Regions from separate parts of the Homo sapiens genome. Here regions 1, 2 and 4 are each linked to region 3. The links are contacts of gene promoters, found by promoter capture Hi-C in blood cells and fetal thymus (Javierre and others, 2016). All regions are on one chromosome and are shown on one strand. Each heading gives the region's core, a stretch centred on a gene start or on the middle of the fragment in contact. The rest is flanking DNA. Distances are from core to core; before and after follow the strand shown. Region 1 overlaps DNAH1 (dynein axonemal heavy chain 1). Region 2 overlaps DNAH1 (dynein axonemal heavy chain 1). Region 3 holds the start of DUSP7 (dual specificity phosphatase 7). Region 4 overlaps PHF7 (PHD finger protein 7).

Region 1 (5,388 bases), core at 1,920-4,419, 320 kb after region 3:
ATAGAGAACTTCAAAAACTACCATCCTTAAAAGATGTTCCTCCTGCTGATCAAAAGAAGTTTTTTATCCAGAAGTTATGTCAGTGTTGCGTCCTTTTTGACTTTGTTTCTGATCCACTAAGTGAACTAAAGTAGAAGGAATTAAAACGAGCTGCTTTAAGTGAAATGGTAGAATATATCACCCATAATTGGAATGTGATCACAGAGCCTGTTTACCCAGAAGTAGTCCATATGTTTGCAGTTAACATGTTTCGAATATTACCACCTTCCTCCAATCCTACGGGAGCAGAATTTGACTCAGAGGAAGATGAACCAACGTTAGAAGCAGGCTGGCTTCATCTACACTTATTTATGAATTTTTCTTAAGATTTTTAGAGTCTGCAGATTTCCAATCTAATATAGCGAAGAAATATATTGATCAGAAGTTTGTATTGCAGCTTTTAAAGCTCTTTGACAGTGAAGATCCTCAGGAGAGAGATTTTCTTAAAACCACCCTTCACAGAATCTATGGGAAATTCCTAGGCTTGAGAGCTTACATCAGAAAACAGATAAATAATATATTTTATAGGTTTATTTATGAAACAGAGCATCATAATGGCATAGCAGAGTTACTGGAAATATTGGGAAGTATAATTAATGGATTTGCCTTACCACTAAAAGAAGAACACAAGATTTTCTTATTGAAGGTGTTACTACCTTTGCACAAAGTGAAATCTCTTGAGTGTCTACCACCCCCAGCTGGCATACTGTGGAGTGCAGTTTTTAGAAAAGGACAGCACCCCCACAGAACCAGTGGTGATGACACTTCTCAAATGCTGGCCAAAGACTCACAGTCCAAAAGAAGTAATGTTCTTAAACAAATTAGAAGCGATTTTAGATGTCATTGAACCATCAGAATTTGTGAAGACCATGGAGCCCCTCTTCCGGCAGTTGGCCAAATGTGTCTCCAGCCCACACTTCCAGGTGGCAGAGCGAGCTCTCTATTACTGGAATAATGAATACATCATGAGTTTAATCAGTGACAATGCAGCGAAGATTCTGCCCATCATGTTTCCTTCCTTGTACCACAACTCAAAGACCCATTGGAACAAGATAATACATGGCTTGATATACAACGCCCTGAATCTGTTCATAGAGATGGAACAAAAGCTGTTTGATGACTGTACACAACAGTCCAAAGCAGAGAAACTAAAAGAGAAGCTAAAAATGGAAGTACGAGAAGAAGCATGGGTTAAAATAGAAAATCTAGCCAAAGCCAATCCCCAGGTACTAAAAACGAGAGTGACATGAAAACGTCCAGGGTTACTTGAAATGTTTTTATAAGATAGGACTATGTCTTCACCATGGGGGCGGGGGGTGGGGCTCGATTTCACTAACGTTGTATATGAAAATGTCTGCAATAAAAAGTACTTTTGAACTTTGTAAAAAAAAAAAAAGTTAAAGGAGAGGAGCATGAATTTTTAGGGCAAAGAAAAATTTTCCTGTGTAATATTGATGTATTTGTCTTTATTCCAGTACTGTTCTAAAGTATAATTTTGAATTTTTGTATGGAGAAGGGGCCACAAAGGTCATAATGCAGCCCTGGCCAGGGCCCTTCCTGACTTCCTGCCCCTACTCCAGGTGCCTTCAAGAACCTAGTGGACATCAACTTTGTCTGTGCCATGGGCCCCCCGGGTGGAGGCAGGAACACCGTCACCCCGCGGCTGATGCGTCACTTCAACTACCTGTCTTTCGCTGAGATGGACGAGGTCAGCAAGAAACGCATCTTCTCCACCATCCTGGGCAACTGGTTGGGTGAGTATTGGTGGGGGTGAGCATGGACAAAGGCAGAAGCCCAGGCCAGGGAGGCCACACCAAGGACAACTGGGTGGCCACCAGAAAGGGTGGAGTGGCCAAACCATGACCGCAACCCTGGGTTCACCTCTCACTCAGCTGTGTGATCTTTGGCAGCTCATGAATCTCTCTGAGCCTGTTTCTTCATCTGTACCTACCATTCCAGGTCGTGAGGGTTAAGTATGATATTGCATGTAGAGCACCTAGCATGAAGCCTGGCACGTGGTGATTGCTGGATGTATGATGCACACAGATATGCACTCACTCACATACATACATACGTATACGTTAGTACTTGCCCAGAAACTCTGGGGAAGGCATGTTACTTTTGTAAATCAGGAAAAGCCACAAGATAGGATGGACGGAGTGTCTCTGAGCCTTTATGGGGTTTGGGGAAAAGCTTACCCCAAGATGCTGTTTCCCCCACCATCTCACCTGGCCAGGGTGAGCAGCAAGAGGTCCACCTAACCCTGAGCCCCGTGTTTCTCCCTCCATCCTCTAGATGGACTCCTTGGAGAAAAAAGCTACCGGGAGCGTGTGCGTAAGTGTGGGCCTGGGCGGGAATGGGGCACTGGTTCCAGGAGGAGCCCTGGGCTCTGGTTGGGTGTGTTGAGGCTGCGACCAGGCGCCGTGGTGAACCATCCTCAGGTTCATGCAGGGACCTTGGGCCACTAGGGTGCCAGAGCGAAGGTTGACACAGGCACTGGCTGCCCCATAGGCTCATTCACCCATTCTTAGAGCCCTTCCATGCCTGCGTTAGTGTCCAGCTGATGATAGATGCAAATTAAATGCAAAATGAATGCATAAATAAGGGAATCCAACAAACTCCCACCCTGTGTGAAGAATCAGAACTCCAGGGAGCAGGTGTGCACAGGAAAGCCGGGAGTGGTTTGTGCGGGGCAGGCATCGTGGTGAATCTGCCCGTCGTCGCGGCAAGGCGGCTGACCACTGCAGTCCCTGTCCTTGCCCAGGCCTGCCTCCTCACCCTGCCTTCAGCTGAAAGAGGCTGTCGAGAAACAGCTCCCTTTTGGGTCTGCACCCACCTGCTTACCTGCGCCCTGCCTTCCCTCCTGTGGCTGGGAACGGACTGCTGCTCCACAGCAAAGCCCAGCCTCCTCCTGGGCCTGCCTGGGAATGTGGCACCCCTCTTCCCCGCCAACACCAGTGCTCCCTTCGCCACTGGGCCTTCCACAAACAAGCCCCATTCTCCATCTCAACCACCAAATGCAAAACAGCCTCTCTGGGCCCCCTTCCCACCTGCCCCAGCCCGTCACTCTACCTCTCTGCTCACCTTGATAGCAAAACTCCTCCAAAGCATTGTCTTTCCCGCTGCACCCGCCCTCCCCTCCCACTTTCCTGTGAATGCACCTCTCACCCTCTGAGAGTTCTTGTCACCAGTTGCCTTCTGTGGCCAGACCAGCGGTCAGCCCTTGTTCTCGCCTTCCCAGGGGTCAGTAGTGCTGGCCGGCAGACATCCCCTTCCTGCCACGGGCTTCTCTCAGGCCTCCCCCATCCCTGGCTGCCCATTCTCGGCTGGACTGGGGCTTGGTCTCCAGCCTCCTCTCCCTCCAACCACACTCTCCTGAGACAGTCCCATCCCGCCTCTGACGGGGAAAACCATCTTTGTGCTGGCAACTCCCAAGTCTACCTCCTCAGCCCAGACCTCTCCCATGAATGCCTGATTCCACATCTTCCCTGGGATGTCCACAGGGTATCTCAGGCCAAACCTGTCCAGAGCCAAACTCCCGAGTACCCCGGTCCCCGCACTCTTCCCATCTCAGGCAATGGCAGCTCCATCCTTCCAGGTGCTCCCAGCAAGACGGGGTCTTGGCGCCATCCTCCATCCCCCCTTCCCTCACCCCACAGCTCACCTGTCAGGAGGTCCCATAGGTTCTCCCTTGAGAACCCATCCCAATCGGCCACTGTTCACCACCCTGTCCTTGCCCACCCAGCCAGTGCTGTAGCCCCGCCATGGTCTCCTGGCAGCTGCCTTCACCTGCCTAAGGTCTATCTTCCGCTTGGGGCCACAGGGACCCATGAAATCATTCCATCAGTCCACACTCCTCCTCTCTCACCCATCGCATCCAGGCAAGAGCCCGGGTCTTGACAATGGTAGGCAAAGCCATCCTCAGTTCGCCCTGCCTCATCCTCTGATCTCACCGCCTCCTGCTCATCCCCTCATTGCTGGTCCTTAAGATGCCAGGCCTGCTCCCACCTCCAGGCCTTTGCCCTTGCTGTCCCCTCTGCCTGGGACAATTTTTCTCCAGTTATGTGAAAGCTTGCATCTCACTTCTCTGCTTGACCCCCCTTCCTCAGTGAGGCCTCCCCCAGCATTCCGTAAAATCGCCCCCAAGCCCAACTCTGGCCCTCCCCGGACCCCTCTCCTGCTGCAGGGCTGCCCGTAGCCCTTGCCACCTATTTGCTGTCTTTGTTACTTGCTAATCCACTCATTGTCGTCCTTACCAACAAGAGTGTCAGCTTGAGGGCAAGGAGTGTGTCTGTTTGGGTCACTCTGTGCCCAGTGCCTGTGTCAACAGACAGGCCCCTCTCCTGCCCTTTCTTTCCATTTTCTCCACTTCTCCGCCAAGTTTCCACTGACAGAATTTGGGTTCCCAGCACAGAATTGGATAGTTTTCAAAGAACAGGCCGATAGGTGTATGAGTGGTAAAAATGCAGGCTGAGGGGTAGGCAGCCCCGAAGTGGGTGGTAAGCCCTCAAGGTCGGGGGTGTGCTCCAAGCCTCCCCACGCCCACTCCGGCATCTTGAGGCCTACGTGGATCATGAGACCCTCCCCAAGTGTGGCTCAGAGGTGGAATGTTCAGGTTTGGGCACAGCCTCCATAGGACAAGGCAGTAATGGCCCCGCCCAGCACTGACCCCACGAGCGCCCCCAGTTCCATGATGAGTCCCAGTGCTCCGACAGGCCATGTCAGCATAAAGATATAAGGGGTGCAGAGCAGGAGATTCTTCACCTCCCCCAAGCTGGGGGCATCCGAGATGGGGCCAAAGGGTACGTGGAATCCAAGCCTGAAGGCTGGGGAAGGGGCTTGGTGGGGGGCACAGCACAGCAAAGGCAAGGAGGTCAGGACCTGCAGAGGCGGCAGAGGGAGCTCCTGGCATGTGACCCAGGCCATTCTCCTATTCCCCCAGCTGGGGCCCCCCACATTGCCCACTTCACGGAGCCCCTTGTGGAAGCCACCATCATGGTGTATGCAACCATCACCTCCCAGCTGCTGCCCACTCCAGCCAAGTCCCACTACACCTTCAACCTGAGGGACCTCTCCAAGGTCTTCCAAGGCATGCTCATGGCTGACCCGGCCAAGGTCGAGGTGAGGACCAGGCAGGCACCCTCCCCAGTGCCCACACTGCTCTCCGCATCCTCCCCAGCCCCACCAATTTCAGGCCTTCCTGCCCAAACAGGCCCTGAGTGGGGCTTCCTGGAACATGGAGGTGCCAGGCCCTCCAGAGCCCAGCCTTGGTGCAGCTGAGCCCAGTCTTGTTAGTTGAACCCACACCTGGAATGGTGGCTGAGACGGGGATCACATGAGAGAGCCAGG
Region 2 (4,970 bases), core at 1,906-4,405, 290 kb after region 3:
CTGCCTTTCTTCAATTTACTTCATTATGCTTTGATTTGACTCTGTTTTCTCTCGGTCACCTTGTAATTTCAGCTTCCTCCCCGTGATACTTTTATTTTCCATTTTTTCCTTGAGCTTAATTAAGTCTCTTTTCTTACCGACATTTGTCCATTTATATGTTTTATTTTTGAATTTCTGATTCAAGGTGGTTTTTCAGATGCCCAAACACTCGTTTAAGGCTATTTAGCTGAAGTATTGTGTTACAGTTTTCTTCTGCTTGGTACTTGTTTATTTTTTTAGGGGTGATGGGAATTTTATCAGTTAAGATGCTCTTGTCTTCTCAAATGTGCAAACAAAGCTAAAAGATGCTCTCTTTTTCTTATAGAAGCAAATGTAGACGGTGTTCACCTATTCATTTCAGGATTTGGAGTGATTTGCAAGCTTTCTAGTTCAAGGGCGCCCTCTTCTGTCAGTATTGCACATTAGTTTTTTTTGTTTGTTTGTTTTTAGAATGTGCTCTGTGTGTGTGTCTGTGTGTGTGTGTGTGTGTGTGTGTGTACACACGTGCTGGGGAGAGGGATGTGGGTCCTCCAAGGTTTTTGTCCTCTTATCTTGCAGAACTCAACATTTCACTTTTGCTTCTTTTCCCTTATCCTCCAGTCTACAAATGACCCCTTTCCTTCTGCCTCCTGTCCCATAAGTCATATGCCTTTCAAAGAACACTGCCTTTGAATTGCATGCCCTTAAGTCCCTTCCTTGTAGTAAGTGCTCTGATTTACCAGGGCTTTTTTTCAGTATTTTTACAGTTAGGGTTACTTTCTCTTTTTTTGAGATACGGTCTCACTTTCACCCAGGCTGGAGTGCCGTGGCATAATCACAGCTAACTGCAGCCTCAAACTCTTGGGCTCAAGTAATCCTCCTGCCTCAGCCTCCCTGGTAGCTGGGACTACAGGCATGTGCCACCACACCCGCTATTTTTTTATTTTTTGTAGAGATGGGGGTCTCACTTTGTTGCCCAGGCTGGTCTCGAATTCCTGGGCTCAATTCATCCACCCACATTGGCCTCCCAAAGTTCTGGGATTATAGGCATTAGCCACTGCGCCCAGCCTGGGTTACTTTCTCTTTCTGGTAGGATTTTATTTATTTATTTATTTATTTATTTATTTATATTTATTTTTTGAGATGAAGTCTTGCTCTGTCACTCAGTCTGGAGAGCAGTGGTGTGATCTCAGCTTACTGCAACCTCTGCCCTCTGTGTTGAAATGATTCTCCTGCCTCAGCCTCCCGAGTAGCTGGGACTACAGGTGGTTACCACCACGCCTAGCTAATTTTTGTATTTTTAGTAGAGACGGGGCTTCACCATGTTGGCCAGGCTGGTCTTGAACTCCTGACCTCAGGTGATCCACCCACCTCGGCCTCCCAAAGTGCTGGGATTACAGGCATGAGCCACTGTGCCCGGCCTCTGGTAGGATTTTAGATCTATCTTAGGGTTACCACTATTTCCCTTTTCTGCAGTTTTTCTTAGACTGCCCTTGTTCTCTGTGAAAACTTGCAGCAAGAGTGTGAGAGACAGCTCACTGGAGATAGATTTTTTTTTTTTAATTTACAGATAATTTGAAGTCTAGGCATTCTGCTGATTCTAGTTGTGCTAAAGGTGTGGGTTTTGGTAGTGTTAGTTTTTTCTTCCTTCCTTCCTTCCTCCCTCCCTTCCTTCCTTCCTTCCTTCCTTCCTAGGATGTGTTGGGAAATTTGAATCGATATAGCCACCTTACCTTGGCTGTCCAGAAGTCTGTTTCTTGAATTTTATTCAATTTATAATGTTTTTGGCTTTAAGTATCAAAGATGCTGGTCTCAGATTGTCTTAGACAGCAGGGAAGTGCATTCCTGTACCTGTAGCAGGAAAACCAATGCAGGACGCCCCAGGGTTGGTGCATCAGGGCCCTGTCTGCAGTGTATGCTGGCTTCATCTTCAGGCGAGATGGCAGCAGCAGTTTCATGACCACAACAAAGGTTGTCTTAGATTGGGTTCCGTAGAAGCAGACCCTGATGTGGGGACTCTTGTGCAAGCGATTTATGAAATCCTCTCAGGAGAAATCTATAAGGAAGTGAAGGAAGCAGGGTATAATAGAAGAAGCAGCTGGTAAAATATGGTTTTAGAAGTCTAGTCTCAGCCTGATCCTGTGGGAAACTCTAGAGCAAGCATGGCACCACCGTATTTGTCCTGGAGGGAGCCAGAACAAGAGGGCTTGACTTTGACTTTTTTTTTTTTTTTTTTTTTTTTGAGACAGGGTCTTGCTCTGTCCCCCAGGCTAGAGTGCAGTGGAGCAATCTTAGCTCACTGCAAAGGGCTTGACTTTTATATATCTGCATCAGTGGTTGATCATAACTGGGACGTGTTCCCACACCTAAACCAACTGCAGTTGGGGCAAGCTCCACCACGACTGGCTTGGACTAGCTGAGATGTACCCCTGTAGCTGGGGCTGTAGTCATCTTCCCCTGAGTCAAGTGAGGAAGGATGGAATTCTGGAACAAAACTGAGGAAGAAGGGAGGGAGTGGATGTCAGGCCAGCAAGCAGCCATGTGTGGAAGTACCCATCTTGTGCCAGACACTGGGTACAGAGGAGTGAACATTTCCAACAAAGAGCCTGCACCCTGGGGACTCTCAGCCTGGCCAGAAAGACAGACAATGAAAAATCTGGGTTTTTAGGGTTCTGATAAGTGCTGTGAAGACCAAGCGAGAGAAGGGAATAGAGATGTCTCAGAAGGGCTTCTTTATATTAGGCGGTCAGGGAAAGCCTTTCTCACAGTGGTGATAACATTTGAGTTGAGGTCTAAAGTAAGGGAAGAAGAGGATTCTGGCAGAAGGAGCAGCAGTGCAGAGGCTGAGGTAGGGACAAGTTTGTGGTACTTGAGGAGCAGGGCAGGGTTACTGTGGTTGGGATGCAGAGAGAGATGTTGGTCTGGGAGGCTGGACCACATGCAGGGGCAGAGACGCGGCCACAGGCCGACAGTCTGTGCAGGCCATGGGTGGTGGTGAGCAGAGGAGTGGCTTGATCGTTTACATGTTTAAAATATATTTTTTCCAACTCAAGTAGAGAATGAGTTGTAAGGGGGCAAGAGTGGAAGCAGGGAGATCAATGAGGAGACTAATGCCATAATCAGGGCCAGAGATCATGATGGTGGCTTGAACCAGAATAGTAGCTGAGCAGCACGGGAGAAAGAGATATATTTGAGGTTTCCTCAGCGGTGGAGCCAATGAGAGCTGCTAATGGACTAAATGCAAGCTCACCCCAGGTCTGGGGATTTCCAATCTCAAAGCCCAGTTTCAGGATCAGGTGCAGGGGTCACCCACCCTCAGGCCCAGTCATGGTGTTGCACATCCAGTAGCAGGAAGAGACCAGGGACCCCTCCGTAGGGCTTTGGTCAGTAGGGTGTGTGCAATGCTGTTCAGAGACAAGGAGGCTAGTGGGGATAGGGGGCAAGCGAGGAACAGGGGATGGAGAGAAATGAAGAGCTTGCCTTCTGACATGCTGGTTCTGACACGTTGTAAGGCATCCAGTGTCAGTGTTGAGTGGGCTGGTGGATAAATGAAGGGAGAGAACTGCAGATAGGTGTGAGGGTTCTGGCTGAATAGAACAGGTGGTGTTCAGAGTCCGAGGCTGGAGGAGCTCACCTGGTGGGAGGTATAGCTGGGGAAGACGAGGGGTCTCAGGACCCCTGGCACAGGCCAACGTTTAGAAGTCAGGGAGGTGAGGAAGATCCAGGGGAAGGGTGTCCCAGAAGCTCCGTGAGGACAGCGGTGCAGCAGAATAGGAGGGAGCCACTGTGCCAAGTCTCTGAGAGTCCAGTGAGATGAGGCAGAGCCTGGAGTGGCCTCAGGGGTAGCGAGGGAAGAGATGAGGATGGGAAGAAGTGAGCACACCAGTTTTTCATAAAGAAACACAAAGAGATAAAGTCAAAGGAGGGAAGGAAGTCAAGGGGCGGCTTCTAATGTGGGACATACCAGAGTGTGTGGGGACCCCTGGGAGGGCGTGGGAGGGAAGGCAAAGAGACTGAGGTGGCTGAGCTTGCTGGGCTTTTCCTGAGAGCAGGGCATGCCTTCTACCCTGGCAGAAGGCAGGGAGATTCCGGGGTGTGAAGATGGGGTCATTTCTGTCCAATGGCTTCTGAGTTCCGGATGAAATTCGAGGGACTTCACCCAGTGAGGGAGGGTGTGTCTGTGAGTTGGCAGAGAAGGTGAGAGAGAGTCTTTTCCAGGTTCCGAGGGAGTGAGTAGATTTCTAGGCCAGGTTGAGGGTGTGTTGAAGGTGAGACCAGTCCCCTGCCTACGAAGTTCTCCAACATCCCGCAGCTCTGGTGCAAGTGTGGGCTGCAGGAAACTGAGATTCCCTTGTGGTGCCATTACCAGGGCTAAAGGGACTATTCAGATGTGGCAGAGGTGGGAGGGAGGGAGAGATCGATGGCAGAGACCAACTCAAGGAACAGAAAGGCCTGTCCGCAAAGGACAGAGATGCCAGCTGGCTCAGATGAGGCCTGAGCAAGCCAGGTGCCGGAACACAGCGGCATAGGCAACGTGTGCTGAGGAGTGAGTGAGCGAGTGAGTGAGTGAGTGAAATGGCCTCCAAGGGGTCTGCCTATGTGAGGACGGGGGAGATGGTGTGCACGCTCACCCCAGGTCTGCTGATTTCCGATCTCGGAGCCCAGTTTCAAAGTGAAGTGCAGGGGTCACCCACCCTCAGGCCCAGTCATGGGCACATCCTGAGTTCTCAGCACCTTCCAGGCGCTGCCATGATTGCCCAGTGAAAGCAAAGGAGCTCAGTGGCAGGCATCTTCCACTGCACCATGGGGCAGCAGGCGGGGGTGCTGCAGGGGAGGTGCAGGCTGTGAGTGGCAGCTCTCTGAGGCTTCCAGGCCCAGGACTTCCTGCACCCCGTCCCACTGCTCTGGGGCCTGCCTTGGCTCCCAGAGACTGGCAACAGAAAATGGGGACA
Region 3 (5,550 bases), core at 1,781-4,280:
TATGACAACCCCATCCTGGAGAGACACGTGTGCTGAGGCGTGATGCGGAGCAAGTGAGACCCGTGGGAGGTCTGTGCGCTGTGATGTTTCAGCTTGCTAAGCCCGAAACAACATCTAAGCCAGGAAAACACAAGCTGGACAGCAGAGAGCCCATGACGTGCTGTCAGCTAGGGGGAGCTCAGGACTCAGGAGACTGCTCAGGCCCCAACAGGTAGAGGGGCCCAAGGGACTCGGTGACTCACAGTAGGCCTGGGTACACCCACGGGCACACGCTGGCACACGTAGGGCACACACAGGTCTCAACAGGCCCAGAGGTACCCAGTCAGGCGGGGGCGCCACCCAGAGTCCTGCATACACCTTGATGCACCCACACCCCCCTGCCCAGCACACAGCACCTACCAATGAAGCTGATGGCCTCAGGGAAGAACTGGGAGAGGTTCTGGCTCCAGTGGTCAGAGATGGGGATCTGCTTGTAGGTGAACTCGCCGCCGTGCTCGAAGGCGTTGGGTAGGTTGGGTGTGACATTGAGGATATACTTGATGCCATACTTGCCGAGCACGTCCAGGTTGGTGGAGTCCTTGGCGCAGCCGAGGTAGAGGTAGGGCAGGATCTGGACAGGGAAGGCTGGTTGGCTGGATGGCACAGGGCTGCCGTCTGACTCGGTGGCACTGCTGGGCAGCTCTCGGTCCGACTCGCCGTCGGAGCAGTCAGAGCTGATGCGCAGGCCCCCCAGGCCCAGCACTGAGGTGGGTGGCGAGCTGCTCGGCGAGGAAGAGCTGTCCACGTTGGTCTCGCAGTGCTCAGAGTACTCTGTTTGAAACTTGTTGAAACCACCTGTGTCCAGGGTGAGACAGGGCCTGGGTGAGAGGCTGGTGAGAGCCCAGATGGGCTGCACAAGACCAGAGATGGCCAGGACTCTGCACGCCAAACACCACAGCACCCACGGTCAGCATGGGCCATGCCAAGCATGTTACACGTGTGCCCTCTCTCGTGTTCTCTCCATCTAAACCATGACCACTTCACAGATAAGGAAACTGAGGCCCCAGAAGGTGAAGTGACGTGCCTGGACTCCAAACTGGTACCCATAACACTTCGGGGCCCCCAGCCATGGCACCAGCTTTAGGGCACTTGAGGACAGGCCCCAGCTAATTCCTCTTCTGCAGCTCCCACGCACACCTAGCACCCATGGGTGTTCAGTAACAGCTAAGTGGTAAAGAAAAGCAGACAACCCCATCTTAGCCAGCACCTCTGGGTTGGCAAACTCCTCTTATAGATGAGACCACAGGTGCCAGAGCCACATCTGGCTCAGTTAGAGGCAGAGAGGTCCTGGGCTTCCTGAACGGGAGTCTAGTGGTTGCCCAGCCCCGAAACTACAGCTGGGGAGGGTAGTGGGAAGGTACTGGCTGGCCCCTTCCCCCAGCAGGGGCAGGTTTTTGAAGGGGGTCCTGGCTCCACTTCTCTAGAACCCTCCCTTAGAACACAAGCCCCACCCCCAGCCTTGGACCTGCAGCGGGGGAGGGCCACTGGGGCGATACAGGGACAGGAGAAATGGGGAGCCCCTTGCAGCGAGGCATGGGCCCTGCGCCCGAGGGTGCCGCAGGCCTCCCCTCCCCTCCCGCCCGCCCCGCTGCCAGCAAGAGGCCATTTTGGAATGTTAATTGGAAACACCGGCCTCAGCCACTCGCCCCCCGGTGCTACCTCTCCCTTCTGCAAGCTCCGGGGCAGCAGGCTAGGGACCTGGGGGTCCCGAGAGACCCGGGCCAGGGCAATGGAGCCTGCCCATACCCTGCCCCAAGCGCCTCCTAGAGGCGGCAATTCTCCGGTGGAAGAAGCAATTCCCGGATCCAGGAGACCCCAACCCAAATGGTCTCCATGCGCTGGAGGTGAGGATGGTGCTATGAAAGGTGCCCTTCCTGATCCTGGCCTTCCAGAAACACGAATTCTAGGCTGGACTTGGGCGCCCTGCCGCTTTTAGGGTTCTGGGAGGCGGCGCCTTCCACCTCTGAGGGGCTCCACTGGAGCCCAGGCACTACTGTCGCCCCATCAACAGGAAAAAAAAGGAAACCCCAGGCAGGGGAAAGTTTGTTCCACCCACTCGAATCGTGCCGAGAAAGGGGGCGCAGAGGGAGCCCCGCGCCTGCCAAACCACACAGTGGGGACCCGGCTCCAGGAGGGCGGATGCGGGCCGGGGACGACGTGGCGCCCAGAGGGGCAGGCCGAGCGCGTGGAGAGGAAAGCGCCTCCAAGGGGGGCGTCAGGGAGTCGCGGGGGGGCCCCGATCCCGTAAGGCGTCTCGGTGCCGCCCTCACCTTGGAGGTAGTAGGCCTGGCAGCCGTCGTCGCGCAGCTTCTGTAGGAGCAGGCCGAGCACGGAGGCGGGAGCGCCGGGCTCGGGCTGCCACTCGGCCGTGGCCTCGTCGTAGAGCAGCACGGTGGCCGCCTTGCAGCGCGTGGCGAAGCGCTCCTTGTCGGCGTGGTTGGGGATGATGGAGCGGATGGGCAGGTTGCCCTTGCGCAGGCGGCGCAACATGAGGCCCGGGATGGCCAGGTTGATGGCCGTCTCGATGTGCGACGACTCGAAGAGCTCGTGCGGCCGGCAGTCGAGCAGCAGCAAGGACGCGCCGCCGCGCGCCTCCAGCTCCTCCTGCAGCCACTCGGCGCTCTTGCAGGGCATGGCCCCTGCCCCCGTCGCCGCGCCCGCCCCGGTGCCTGCGCCGGACCCCGACCCCGCACCGGGCTCGGACCCCGCCCGGGTGCCCCCAGCCGCCGCCGCCCCCGAAGTCGACATGTGCGCCCGCGCTGGGGGGCCGCGGAGCTGGTTTTTCATGGGGAGCGCGGGCGGCCCGGGGCCGGGGCCGGGCAGCCCTGCCCTGGGACGGCGCCCCGGCCGCGCGGGCCCCAGCCGCGTCTCCGGGCGCCCGCCTCCCGCCGAGCTGCGCGCCCGCCGCCCCGGCCTCCCGGCCTCCCGGCCTCCGTCCCGCCCGCCCGCCCGGCCCTCCGCGCGCACCGCGGCCTGACAGCCCCAATTAAACGGCGGCTCCGGCGGCCGCGCGCCGAGGCGTTCTCCGGGGGGCGGGGCCGCGGGGGCCGGCGCCCGGGCTTAAAGGCGCAGCGCCTCCACCGCCCCTCCCCACGGGGTATGCGGGCGCGCTCGCGACCCGAGCCCGGGAGACCAGCGGCGGGGCCCTCCCCCACCGCCTCCGCACCGTTGCCCCCTGGACTAGCTCGGAGCTGACTACGATCCGCCTAGGGACCCCGGCCTAGACGCCCTCATGGGTTCACTCTGCGCGTGCTCCCAAGCTCTTCTGGACACTGCGGGAAGAGAGGCCCTGGGGGCGTCCTATGCCTGGCACCCCCACCCCACATTCACAACAGCATAGTTTTCCTGGGACGGGGCGTGGTGGGGGGGATGGTCAAGCTGAGCAACCTCTCCTCCTCCCGCCTGTCATCCCATTCATTTTTTCTGTCATCGAGTTCATTCAACAAATGAGAACTGAACGCCTACTACGTGCCAGGCACTGTGCTAGGCGGTCACCGTTTCAGAGGACCTCATCGTTCCCCTGACGGTCACAGGCTCCAGACCTGAGGGAGAGCGTCTCACGCCAGCAGGCCTGATGGGAAATCAGGACCTGGGCAACTGGCGGGGTAGGAAGACTCAGGGCCGTGCCACCTTCCGTGGGCAGGTGTGGAGAAATCCTAGAAAGGACCAGCTTTGGGAAGGGATCGCGAGCCCTTTAAGAAAGCTTTACAAGCGGGGTGGTGACAGGCGCCCAGTGAAGCGCCACGTGACTTTTTCCACGGGGCCGGTGGGAGGGGAATGCTCCTTTATAATCAGCTTTCCTTCCCCTGCCTCCCTCTCAACGGACCAATCAACTTCCGCGGTAGGCGGGCGCCTGCCATGCAGATGGCCAATCCTGGCCGAAAGAGGCGGTGGCGGAGGGAGGCGGGGCCCGCCGCGGTTTCCACCCAGGGCGGGGAAGTGGGCGGGGCCTCCGCCCGCCCTGTGTGTCGATTTGCAGGCAGGCGGGGCAGCGGAGGTGAATGGACCCGCAGGTAGCGCTAGAACAAAGCGGCTAGACGCAGGCGGCGCGCTTGCGTAGGACCTGCAGTGCTTTCCCTACGGAGCCAGGGTGGCAGCTTGAGGCTGGACCCTGCCGTCTATCTGGTCCATTCTTTTGCCTGGCGGGGTGCCCCTCCTTGGGGCTTAACCCCCCGACTCCGCCCGAGGCTGGTCGGCTCTGAGACACCTTGCCCCCATCCCTGACTGGGGGAGCGGTGGTGCTTGAGGGACGGCCTCTGGAACCCCGAGGATTTGAGCTTTCCGCTAACCTCTGACCAGAAGGCACGAAAAGGGGTGACTCAGGAGCAGTCCCCGCCTGTCTTTCAAGCGAGGGATAGTCTTTCGGAAGAGTTTCATCCTGGGCCACAGGGCTGTATCCCAAAGGAGCAGGGGTCTCTCCCACAGTCACATTCTCAGAGTGTGAAAGGAGAAGCAACTCTCCGCCCAAGGTTGTCCTGGGGGTCCTGGGCCTGTGGAAAGAGCTTCCAGGGCCCAAGATGCCAAGACCCAGATTCTGTCCTGCCACTTGCAGGTGTGTCCTGTGACCTTAGTATGGTTCTTCCCTCTGGGCCTTGGGTCTCCCAGTGTAGGAGAGTGCTAGTGTGGACTGAGCCCAATCCGTCTATGAATCCATCCGGCTGGGAGGACGTGGTCTGAGGACAGGCCTCTCGGCTGGCAGGCTGGATGCTGCTTGTCAGGGATGGAGGCAGCACTCAAAAAAGAGGCCTGAGCAAACTCCCAGGGGAGGGTGAGCTGCTGAGCAGTGCACCATTCACTCAGCAAGCCTTGCTGAGGGCCTCCTGAGTACCAGCCTGCCTGGAGCCGGAGTGACAACAGTGGAGCCTCCATCCTCCACTCAGGCCTGGCTACCTCTCCCCTCTGCTCCACCATGGGGTTGGATGCCGGTCTGGGTGCTCTCCCAGGCCTACCACAGGATGAACACAGACCCCTCTTTCTCTAGGGCAGAGACTGGTCTTGGTGTTCCCTCCCCAGACGGGTCCATGGTAGCTCAAGAAGGTGTCAAGTGCCCAATAAGTCAGGGTGACATCCCTGAGGGGCAGGCCAGAGTCACATCAACAGAAGGCTCATGCTGTCCTCAAGTGAGACTGGGCGCGTGTCCCACGGCGCTGAAGCATACTCGCTTCTGAGTGCCTGGTGAGGAATGGGCCATTGCTCTCACTAGCAAGGGAACAACTGAAATGGGAGCCTCCTCTGAGCCTCCCCAGCCCCCACTACCCAGGCATGAGGAAGAACTACCCTAGAGAGAGGAAAGGGGTCCCGCCATCCCTCACATTAGCCTGCAATGACTCCTGTCTCTCTCCCTTTAGACTCCTGTAGTGGGGGATACACCCTGGAGGAGAGATCTGTGAGAATGTGTGAAAAGCTCCTGCAGCAGGAGGAGAGGGCGTCCTCTAACAAGGAGGTAAAGAGAGGCAGATTTGGATGAGTGCAGGAGAAGGGGGAGCATGTGGAGAGGGGGTGACAGTGGAA
Region 4 (5,122 bases), core at 122-2,621, 360 kb after region 3:
CACCATGCCTGGCTAATTTTGTATTTTTAGTAGAGACAGGTTTCACCGTGTTAGCCAGGCTGGTCTTGAACAAAATTCACTAATTTTAAGGGTCCAGTTTGATAAGTTTTGATAAATGTATGTCCCCAAATAACCACCACCCCAATCAAAATAGGTAATATTTTCATCACCCCAGAAAGTTCCCTCCTGCCTCCTTTTCCAGTCAATCCCACTAGACGTAATCACTGTTCTGATCTATGGATTATTTTTGGCTATTCTTTTACTTCATATAAGTGAAATCATATAGTTTATAATCTTCTGTATCTGGCTTTTTTCTCCCAACACAGTGTTTTGGAGATTCATCCATGTTGTTGCATGCATTCATAGCTTGTGCCTTTTTATTACTTGGTAGTATTCGGTTGCATGAATAAGTTACTATTTGCTTATCTGTTCACCTGTTGATGAACATCTGAATTGTTTCCATTTGAGGACTATTATGAATAAAGCTACTTTAAGCATTCATGTACAAGTCTCTTTGTGAACATGTGCTTTCACTTCTCTTGTGCAGATGCCTAGAAGTGGAATTACTAGTTGTATGCTAATTAGATATTTAACTTTATGTGAGGTTGCCACATCACTGTCCAAAGCGGTTGTACCAGCTTACACTCCTACCAGCAATTTATAAGAAGTCCAGTTGCACAGTATTCTTGCCGGAACTTTGTTTTGTCAGTGTTCTTAATTTTAGCCATTCTACTGGGTGTGTATTGGTATTTCATTGTCGTTTTAATTTCCATTTTTCTGATGACTAAAGCTTCTTTTCATGTGCATATTGGCCATTCACATATTTTCTTTGGTTTTTTGGTTTTTTTTTTTTTTTGAGATGGAGTCTCGCTCTGTCGCCCAGGCTGGAGTGCAGTGGTATGATCTTGGCTCACTGCAGCCTCCACCTCCCGGGTTGGAGCAATTCTCCTGCATCAGCCTCCCAAGTAGCTGGGACTACAGGTGCCTGTCACCACGCATGGCTAATTTTTATATTTTTAGTAGAGACAGGGTTTCACCGTGTTAGCCAGGATGGTCTCGATCTCTTGACCTCGTGATCTGCCCACCTCGGCCTCCCAAAGTGCTGGGATTACAGGCGTGAGCCACCGCGCCTGGCCCGGCCCACATATTTTCGTTTGTTAAGTATCTGTACAAATATTTTTACCCATTTAAAAACACTGAGTGGTGGTCGGGCACAGTGGCTCACGCCTGTAATCCCAGAACTTTGGGAGGCCGAGGCGAGCAGATCAAGAGGTCAGGAGATGGAGACCATCCTGGCTAACACGGTGAAACCCTGTGTCTACTAAAAATAAAAAAATTAGCCGGGCATGGTGGCAGGCGCCTGTAGTCCCAGCTACTCGGGAGGCTGAGGCAGGAGAATGGCGTGAACCCAGGAAGTGGAGCTTGCAGTGAGCCGAGATCACGCCACTGCACTCCAGCCTGGGCGACAGTGCAAGACTCCGTCTCAAAAAAAAAAAAAAAAAATTGAGTGGTTTTATTATTGAGTTGTAGGAATTGCTTATATATTTCAGATACAAATTCTTTTTCAAATATATGTATTGAGACTATTTTCTTCCTAGTCTTTGGCTTGCCTTTTCATTTTCTTAATGGTGTCTTTCAAAGAACAAGTTTGTAATTGTAATGGAGCCCAGTTTATCCATTTTTTTCTTTTATGGTCAGTGCTTTTTGTGTGTTGCAAGAAATCTTTACCTACCCATAGAATTGCCTTGGTGCCTTTGTCAAAATCAATTGACCATATATCTGTGGATCTGGATAATCTATTTATGTCATTGATCTATGTATCTATTCTTACACAAGTCCCCACTGTCTTGATTATTGTGGCTTTATAGTATATTGAAATTCAGTATTGTTAAGTTCTACAATCTTTTCCAAGATTGTTTTGACTATCAGGTCCTTTCTTTATAAAGTTTATATTAAGCTTGTCAATTTTTCTTTAAAAAAAAAGTCTACTGGGATTGTGATTGGGATTGCATTGAATTTATAGGTCAATTTGGGAAGAATTGACAAAAAATATTGAACCTTCCAATCCATGGACATGGTATATTTTTCCACTTATTTGGGTCTTTTAAAATATATCTCAGCAATGTTTTGTTGTTTTGGTGACAAAGTCTTGTACATCTTTTGTTAAATGTATTCCTAAATATTCTGTGGTTATGCTATTGTAAATAGTATTTTTATTTCATTTTTAAGTTTATTGCTGGTATATAGAAATGCATTTTATTTTTGTATATTGATTTGTATCCTGTAATCTTGTTAAATTGAGTTTGATTAGTTGTTTTTTTATTTTGTTGTAAATGCCTTGTTACAGGATTCCCTATGCACATAACCATGTCATGTGTGAATAAAGACAGTTCTACTTCTTTCTCTCAATCTTTGCCTTTTATTTCTTCTTGCCTTGTTGTATTGGCTAGGACCTTTAACCTAACATTGAATAGAAGTGGTGTGAGTTGTTATCCTTGTCTTGTTCCCAACATCAGGGGACAGCATCTAGTTTTTCACTATTAAAGTATGTTAGCTCTAGGTTTTTTTCATAGATGTTTTTATCAGGTTGAAGATCCCTTTTATTCATATATAGTTTGCCCAGAGTATCATGAATGGGTGTTGAATTTTCTCACTTTTCCTGTATTTATTGAGATTATCTTGATTTTTCTCTTTAATTTTGTTAATGTAGTTTGTTACATCAACTAAATGCTCTAATGTTAAACTAGTCTTGCATTCTTGGTATAAACTCTACTTGGTCATGATGTATTGTCCTTTTTATATGGTGCTGGATTCAGTTTGCATCTGTTTTGATTTTTATATCTGTGCTCATGAGAAAGATTGGTCTGTGATTTTCCTTTCTTGTAAGTCCTATCAGGTGTCAGGGCTTAGTTATAATTTTGATGTATTTACAAGCATATACATTTTTTACATAAAAATTAAACATTATACAGAGTGCTTTGTATCTTGGCTTTTTTCCATCATATATATTTTGGAAATCTTTCTGTATAGAACATATAGATATAGTTTTTTCTTTTTAGTAGCTAATTTATTAAATCAATACATGCTTATTGCAGAAAACATGAATGATACTTAAAAATATGAAGAAAACAAATCACTCATCCCAAAGCCCTGAGATAATTAGTTTTAAAATATGTGTTTCAAAAGTTCAATTCCTTCCCCCATAATACAGAACAACAACAATCAAGAGATATTAAAACCCTGTTTTTCTTCCTGTATTACTCTGAGAAGAGTATTTTCTCTGTACTAAGAGGTGATGCAGCAGGAAGGGTAAGAATGGGGATTCCATGGGCCTGGGTGTGAATAGCCAGCTCTGCTCCTCCTTGTCCTATAACCCTGGGAGGCAGTGTCACTTGCCACACTGCACCTCAGCGGCCTCCTCTGTAAGATGAGCATCATAATAGCATCTGCCATTACAGGAATTTTTTTTTTTTTTTTTGAGACGGAGTCTTGCTCTGTCGCCCAGGCTAGAGTGCAGTGGCCTGATCTTGGCTCACTTCAACCTCCGCCTCCCGGGTTCAAGCGATTCTCCTGCCTCAGCCTCCCGAGTAGCTGGGATTACAGGCGCGCACCACCATGCCCTAGTTTTTGTATTTTTAGTAGAGACAGGGTTTCACCATGTTGGCCAGGCTGGTCTCGAACTCCTGACCTCAGATGGTCAGCCCTCCTCGGCTTCCCAAAGTGCTAGGATTACAGGTGTGAGCCACCGTGCCTGGCCAAGGATTGTAAGCATAAAATGAGTAAATACAAAGGAAATGTTTCCCCCAAAGTCCCAGCACACAATAGCAGCCCTCAGTAAGTGAGAGGCAGCCTAGAGCAAAAGTAAGAGTCCAGGTTCCAGAGTTCTGTGGCCTTGAGCAGGTCGCATCATCTCTCCTATAAAATGAGGACAATAATAGTACCTACCTCCTAGGGCTGTTGGGAGGACTCAATGAGTTAATATTTGAAACCACTTAGAGTATTCAACACATGGTTGGTGCCATGTAAGCCTTCATTAAATAAATTACCCTGTCAATGCATATATATTCCACCAAGCTCTGTTCTTTTTTTTTTTCTTTTTTGAGACAGAGTCTTGTTCTGTGGCCCAGGCTGGAGTGCAGTGGCACGATCTCGGCTCACTGCAAGCTCCACCCTCTCGGGTTCACGCCATTCTCCTGCCTCAGCCTCCTGAGTAGCTGGGACTACAGGTGCGTGCCACCACACCCGGCTAATTTTTTTGTATTTTTAGTAGAGATGGGGTTTCACCGTGTTAGCCAGGATGGTCTCCATCTCCTGACCTCGTGATCCGCCCGCCTCGGCCTCCCAAAGTGCCGGGATTACAGGCATGAGCCACCACACCCGGCCCAAGCTCTATTCTTTAGCTCTCTTACCCTGTCCTTCTCCTCACCTCACTGCACTGTTTCACTGATCATCATTGTTAACAGCCTGGTTCTACTGCCCCCGCAGATCTTATCTAGTAAGCTGCCTCAGAGGGGCCAGTCCAACAGAGGCTTCCATGGATTTCTGCCTGAAGACATCAAAAAGGAGGCAGCCCGGGCTTCTAGGAAGGTTAGAATCTCTTGAAATGAGGACCTTGGGGTAGGCCTCTTTTCATACCTCACCCATCATTCCTGTTTCTGTTCTCTTCCCTACTTCCTAGTTTAGATGTCAAAGGACTCTTGGATTTTCCAACTAGTCCTTAAGTCCCATATTCCTCTGGGGTATGGGTGTCCTAAGTGAGAAGAGGGAGAAACATCTTGAGAAAATAGGAAAGAACTCAGTGCTGCTTGAAGCTCAGCTTCCGGGTGCCCCAGAGCATTCAGGACCACTGAAGATAGGGAATGGCTATTATTTCACAAAACTTCCATTTAATAGAAAGATGTGCTACACTGTGTGTGTTTGCATTTCTTGGGGTCCTGAGCACTGTCTGGGAACTCATTTGCAGATCTGCTTTGTGTGCAAGAAAAAGGGAGCTGCTATCAACTGCCAGAAGGATCAGTGCCTCAGAAACTTCCATCTGCCTTGTGGCCAAGAAAGGGGTTGCCTTTCACAATTTTTTGGAGAGTACAAGTGAGTGAGGGAAGGGAAAAGTCTGGCTTCCTTT

The links. Contacts are between HindIII fragments. The CHiCAGO score rates a contact against its expected background, and 5 or more counts as called.
Region 1: a fragment that was not itself captured here is called in contact with the fragment with the promoter of DUSP7 in region 3 in 1 of 17 cell types (naive B cells); the score reaches 5.5 in naive B cells.
Region 2: a fragment that was not itself captured here is called in contact with the fragment with the promoter of DUSP7 in region 3 in 7 of 17 cell types (fetal thymus, naive B cells, naive CD4 T cells and 4 more); the score reaches 11.0 in fetal thymus.
Region 4: a fragment that was not itself captured here is called in contact with the fragment with the promoter of DUSP7 in region 3 in 2 of 17 cell types (neutrophils and total B cells); the score reaches 6.4 in neutrophils.

The regions. Positions count from the first base shown.
Region 1 is chr3:52,373,621-52,379,008 of GRCh38, forward strand. It overlaps DNAH1 (dynein axonemal heavy chain 1), which reads left to right. Exons shown (of 78, transcript NM_015512.5): 45 at 1,620-1,793; 46 at 2,335-2,373; 47 at 4,982-5,160. It also overlaps the pseudogene PPP2R5CP. Among named protein-coding and RNA genes, the nearest start is that of BAP1, 34 kb to the right of the region's middle. The HindIII fragment of the contact is 1,878 bases long and covers 2,231-4,108 here.
Region 2 is chr3:52,339,295-52,344,264 of GRCh38, forward strand. All of the region lies in intron 8 of DNAH1 (dynein axonemal heavy chain 1), which reads left to right. Among named protein-coding and RNA genes, the nearest start is that of DNAH1, 25 kb to the left of the region's middle. RefSeq lists an enhancer at 4,259-4,760. The HindIII fragment of the contact is 5,475 bases long and covers 419-4,970 here.
Region 3 is chr3:52,053,541-52,059,090 of GRCh38, forward strand. DUSP7 (dual specificity phosphatase 7) reads right to left here and starts at 3,031. Exons shown (of 3, transcript NM_001947.4): 1 at 2,310-3,031; 2 at 400-834. The coding sequence starts at 2,826. RefSeq lists silencers at 1,542-1,611, 2,322-2,371, 2,692-2,751, 2,952-3,331, 3,732-4,091. The HindIII fragment of the contact is 7,722 bases long and covers 1-3,740 here.
Region 4 is chr3:52,415,348-52,420,469 of GRCh38, forward strand. It overlaps PHF7 (PHD finger protein 7), which reads left to right. Exons shown (of 11, transcript NM_016483.7): 5 at 4,486-4,587; 6 at 4,964-5,088. Among named protein-coding and RNA genes, the nearest start is that of PHF7, 7.2 kb to the left of the region's middle. The HindIII fragment of the contact is 1,167 bases long and covers 789-1,955 here.